2 separate regions of the Homo sapiens genome follow, and region 2 is linked to region 1. The links are contacts of gene promoters, found by promoter capture Hi-C in blood cells and fetal thymus (Javierre and others, 2016). All regions are on one chromosome and are shown on one strand. Each heading gives the region's core, a stretch centred on a gene start or on the middle of the fragment in contact. The rest is flanking DNA. Distances are from core to core; before and after follow the strand shown. Region 1 holds the start of MAP1LC3C (microtubule associated protein 1 light chain 3 gamma). Region 2 holds the start of WDR64 (WD repeat domain 64).

Region 1 (2,700 bases), core at 88-2,587:
TCTCTCAGTGTTCTGAGCAGGGAACGTTTCCTTTGGGGAGAAGTCCCCACCCCTAGGCACACATACACTTGGAAAAGGTGCTGGTCTCTGCAACGGACGCGCAGACTCGGTTTCACACAAGATCTGAAAGAAAGGATCTCCCGGCCTAGCTTGAGAGCCAAGACTAACTACTTTAGGAAATTCTTAGAAATGTTGGCAGGTCTTTTTTGTTGTTGTCGTTGTCTGAGGGATTCTCCTTACCTGTTTAAAATAGAGTAATTCTTTTTTTTTTTTTTTTTTTTTTGAGACAGAGTTTCACTCTTGTTGCCCAGGAGTGCAGTGGAACAGTCTCGGCTCACTGTAACCTCCGCCTCCCAGGTTCAAGCGATTCTCCTGCCTCAGCCTCCCAAGTAGCTAGGATTACAGGCACCCGCCACCACGCCTAGCTAATTTTTGTATTTTTAGTAGAGACAGGGTTTCACCACGTTGGCCAGGCTGGTCTCAAACTCCTGACCTCTGCGATCCACCTGCCTCAGCCTCCCAGAGTGCTGGGATTACAGGCATGAGCCACTCCGCCCGGGGTTTAAAATAGAGTAATTCTAAGAGCATCTTTTCAGGGTACTAGTGAATCTAAAAGGTGACTTCAAAAAAATCTCTTTCCTCTCTTCCCCTGACGTGCCCCCATCCCCAAAATAAAACTGCCAAACGAAGAAAGCCCAACAGCCCCGGCGCACCCAGCGCACCTTCCTCCGGGGCACGCTCTGCGCCACCTACCGGATGATGCTGAGGAACTGGGTCATGGTCAGCTCCTGCGGGACCAGGAACTTGGTTTTGTCCAGCGGGGGCAGGAACGTCTCCCTGGGGTAGCGCTCCACTACCACCTGTCAAGAGTGTCAGTCCTTAAGAATGTGACTCAGCGTGAGTGTTAGGAACTTGGAACAGACAGAGGGAAGCTGTTGGCTGCTCTTGGTTTTTCAGAGAACAGGATCGGAACCCCACCCCCACGCCCCCCAGCGGAAGTCCAGTGGTGTCTTACCGGGATTTTGTTGGGGAACTTTGCCCGGATTCCAGCAACTTCCTCTTGTCTGATTGCTGTGAATATTTCAAGCACAAGAGAAGAAGCAAAGATCAAGAAAAGAAGCAAAGATCAAGAGAAGGCCAGATCCGCTCCTCTCTTTAGATAACCCAGAAAGCTACCCCAAGAAATTTACCCAAGCTTTTCCTCTGCTTGAAGGGTCTGACGCTTGGGATTTTCTGTGGAGGCGGCATTGCACTCAGTAGCTGTGTCTGTTTTAAAAAAGAAAAAAAAACTGTCCCGCAACCGGGAACCTAACTCATTCCTCCAGCTGCTTCCAAACTGCCTGCAGGAGCCTGAAGGAGGCCCTTATGTAGGGCTGAGTGACATCAGGCCTCTCCTCTCCCTCCCCTCTCCCCACTCCCCCTCCCTGGGCAGCAGGAGGTCAGTTCTGATGGAAATGGAATCGCCACCTGCTTGCTGGTCAGAGAAAGCCACTTTGTTCATGACCAGTTCAAGATGTTTCTTTGCAAAAGAAATTAGGGTTTGTAATAAAATCATTGGCTGGGCAGCGGACTGTGGAGAGGTAAAACTGCCTTGTGCTGGGATGTTTTTGCCCTTCAGTAGCAAGGGGGGGTCCAAGCTGGATCCACCTCAGCCTGAAGTGTGCTGTGTAGTTCTCACAATGGTCCATGCCCTTTATCACAGAAGGAAACCTATACTAAGAAAGGTGAAGTGATTTGCTCGAGGGCACACAGCAAGTAAGAGAAGCGGTATGGATTAAAACCTAGAGCTGTACACTGGGTGCAGTGGCCCACGCCTGTAATCCCAGCACGTGGGAGGCCGAGGCGGGTGGATCACCTGGCCAACATGCTGAAACCCCATCTCTACTAAAAATACAAAAATTAGCCGGACGTGGTGGCTGGCACCTGTAATCCCACCTACTCAGGAGGCTGAGGCAAGAGAATCGCTTGAACCCAGGATGCGGAGGTTGTAGTGAGCTCAGGTCACACCATTGCACTCCAGCCTCGGCAACAAGAGCGAAACTTCATCTCAAAACAAAACAAAACAAAACAAAAAAAACCCAGAGTTGTTACAAGGAAGTCCAAGTACTACACTCCAGTATATTCTGTCACTTAGTTTTCTCTGGGATAAAAGAAGGAAGGAAGGACAATTGTCCCCAAGATCTTGCTTTTAGAGTTAAGAAACTGGGTCTCTGGTCATACATAGGGGAAACCAAACTCCATTTCTCCTATATTCTCACAACACAGATCACTTTTGACACTAGATGTGTGTGTGTGTGTGTGGGTGGGTGGGGGTTCCCCATACACCGAGCAATCACTTCTACAGTGGACACCAGCTAGGTGTCCTCCAATCCAACTCTGACACTGTCTACCTGGAGACAGCATCAGATCGGGCTGAGGGCTCTGTCCCACAAGACTGTCCCCCACTTTCAATGCCGATTGCAAGCCCCAAGTTGTGTTTGTTGTTTTTTTGCTTGTTTGAAACAGAGTCTTGCTCTGTTGCCCAGGCTGGAATGTAGTGGCACGATCTCAGCTCACTGCAATCTCTGCCTCCTGAGTTCAAGCGATTTCTCCCGAGTAGCTGGGATTACAGGCACATGACACCATGCCTGGCTAATTTGTGTGTTTTTAGTAGAGAGGGGGTTTCGCCATGTTGGCTAGGCTGGTCTGAAACTCCTGACC
Region 2 (2,700 bases), core at 140-2,639, 350 kb before region 1:
GCTATTTTATTCACTGCTGTATCCTTAGTGTCTAAAACAGCCTCTAGCATGAAGTGTGTATTCAGTAAATATTTCCTAGATGAATTAATGGTGAATGCATTAGAATTGTAGGAAGAGTGGTTCTCCAGACATCACTGTACAGTGGTTTGAAAGCTTTAAAGGAAAAAGGAGGAGAAACAAATGGGGTTGGGGGATTTTTCTTTAAATAAAATCTTACTGCGCTCTCCTAACAGATAGTTAGAGGTGGACACCAAGAAGACAGTACTGGAATTGGAGGTGCTCTGAAATGCCATCTGCTTCATCTCTGAATGCAAGTTCTTGAAGAATGTTTTAAAAGATGGACTACCAAGGGGTAGGAAATTTATCTAACTCACCTAAGCCATAGGAAGTTAACTAATTGTTGAGAAACATTAAACAACTTCTCCTTCCCATAAAAAGTTGAAAATTGGAAAACCGGAGTCAATAGCATTTGGACTAAGTCGGATTGGAGATTGCAATGACTGGGAAGGAGATGTGCAGAAAGGCCTCTTCTAATTCATCTGACCTCTTACCTTGAAAAGCTGTCCTCATAATCAGAAGCCACTCCTTCCTTATCCTTGGCTCACTTTATTATTTCAATCGAAGGACAATGCACAAAGGAAGAAGAGCATTTGTATTCCCTATGACCTCTAAAAATGTTTGTGGTAGAAATGACAGGTGCTGAAATACATTTCATCTTTAGAAGTTCGAATTTCCATATCCAGTACAGTGGCAAGAATAAGTGTGAATATTACTTTTTTTTTTTTTTGAGAGGAAGTCTCACTCTGTCACCCAGGTTGGAGTGCAGTGGTGTGATCTCAACTCACTGTAACCTCTGACTCCCAGGTTCAAGTGATTCTCTTGCCTCAGCCTCCTGAGTAGCTGAGATCACAGGTGCCCGCCACCACATCCAGCTAATTTTTGTATTTTTAGTAGAGACGGGGGTTTCACCATGTTGGCCAGGCTGGTCTTGAACTCCTGACCTCAGGTGGTCCACCCACCTCGGCCTCCCAAAGTGCTGGGATTACAAGAATGAGCCGCCGTGCCTGGCCAAACTTTACTTTCCGCGGTATTGTGAGGAAGGCAAAAGGTTTGAGGTGAGAAGAGATACACGAGGGAGAAAGTATTACCCAGTTTTCTTACTTGTTATTTACTCATTCCTTTTCCCTCTCAAGCAGTATACACAACACACACATGTGCACGCGCACACACACACACAGTCTGTGGGGAAAAAAATATCTCAATCTCCTCCTTATGAAGGAAGTAGGATGTTACAGAGATATTATGATGCAATGAGGACCCTATGAAGGACACTGATGACATTGTGAGGTCAGGATTTTTACTGAAATGTTTGTCTGTATGAAATGCATCAGACCTAAATCAGCTTTCCTCCCTGCTAACATCCTAGTGGCAACTCTTACTCCTACCCGCACTATGGGATTTTAAGATCAAAGGAATTAGACCTAGGGCAAAAACTGAGACAGCAGGGAGGCACTGTAACAACTGGAAAGTTTTCCAAATTGGTAAACTTGCAGTATTCTTTCTGTACAGAAGTAAAAGATCCCCTATGTCCCTATGGATATCAGGAAGGAAAAGCGTCTCAACATGGCACTTCAGATGAGCAATTTCAAAAAGGCTTTGAACAGGTTTGAAAAATTGGTTGAACAAACAGCAGCCCAGAAAAGAGATGAAAGAGCAGGCTTATTTATCCATAAAGAAGGTAAGATCAGTGATTACACGATAGTCCAATTGGGTCTGTTGGTTAGAACTGGAAAATGTTTTAAGCCATCAGAGAGAAGCATCAGAGCTTAATGTGAAAGAATGGGTGCTGAAAGGGGATGAAGACCTCAGTTCTTGTTCTTTCTCTGTCCCTAAATAACAAAGCGGACATGAGGAAGCTTTTGTTTTGTTTTGTTTTTGTTTTTGTTTTTTTTTTTTACTTCTCTGAACCGAAGTTGCTTCAATTGTAAAACTATGGGATTGGATTAAATGACGTCCAGTGTTCTTCTGTAGACGCTGCCATTTGATGGCTCACTGGTTGACCTGGGATGCTCAGTAATGTATAGCACTGCTTTTTCTTAGCCTAAAGATATCATGAGACCATAAAGACTTTCATAAGAAGTGCAGCTTCCTGCCTCACCATGATTCCATTGTCTTGGCCACTCTCCATATCTCTAGGCAGGAATGATCTTGAGGATGCAAGCTAAGGAGAATATGGTGGACAGTGGTCTTACAGGAGGATTTGCAGCAGAGATGCCAGTGCATAGACAAGATTCAAGGGGAGTGGTGTAGTGTACAGCTTTGGCGTATTGAGGACAGCTGTGAAAAATAAAGCTACATGGCAGAGTGAAAGACTAACAGAACAAACCCTGCTGTTGCAATGAAAGGAGCAGAGCCCATATAATTGCTAAAGGGATAGTATAGCCAGCCTCTGAGTGTGCCAGGCTGCATAGTAATTTGTAAGTGAAAATCTTGACTTTGGGTGTTCAAACCCAAGCTGGTATTAATTGAATAGTATTTAATAATTTATAGTCATGTTAATCAATGTCATTATGTTCATTTTATTTGTGGAAAAAATGGGAGCTGAAGATAAATCATTTGCCCAAGTTACCCAAATTCTTTTCTTTTCTTTTCTTTTTTTTTTTTTTTCTGAGACGGAGTTTCATTCCTATTGCCCAGGCT

The links. Contacts are between HindIII fragments. The CHiCAGO score rates a contact against its expected background, and 5 or more counts as called.
Region 2: the fragment with the promoter of WDR64 here is called in contact with the fragment with the promoter of MAP1LC3C in region 1 in 14 of 17 cell types (M2 macrophages, fetal thymus, M0 macrophages and 11 more); the score reaches 14.8 in M2 macrophages.

What each region holds. Positions count from the first base shown.
Region 1 is chr1:241,997,761-242,000,460 of GRCh38, forward strand. MAP1LC3C (microtubule associated protein 1 light chain 3 gamma) reads right to left here and starts at 1,338. Exons shown (of 4, transcript NM_001004343.3): 1 at 1,191-1,338; 2 at 1,016-1,071; 3 at 754-860. The coding sequence starts at 1,248. RefSeq lists an enhancer at 1,323-1,848. The HindIII fragment of the contact is 10,018 bases long and covers 1,194-2,700 here.
Region 2 is chr1:241,650,892-241,653,591 of GRCh38, forward strand. It overlaps WDR64 (WD repeat domain 64), which reads left to right and starts at 1,390. Exons shown (of 28, transcript NM_001367482.1): 1 at 1,390-1,738. The coding sequence starts at 1,594. The HindIII fragment of the contact is 1,763 bases long and covers 152-1,914 here.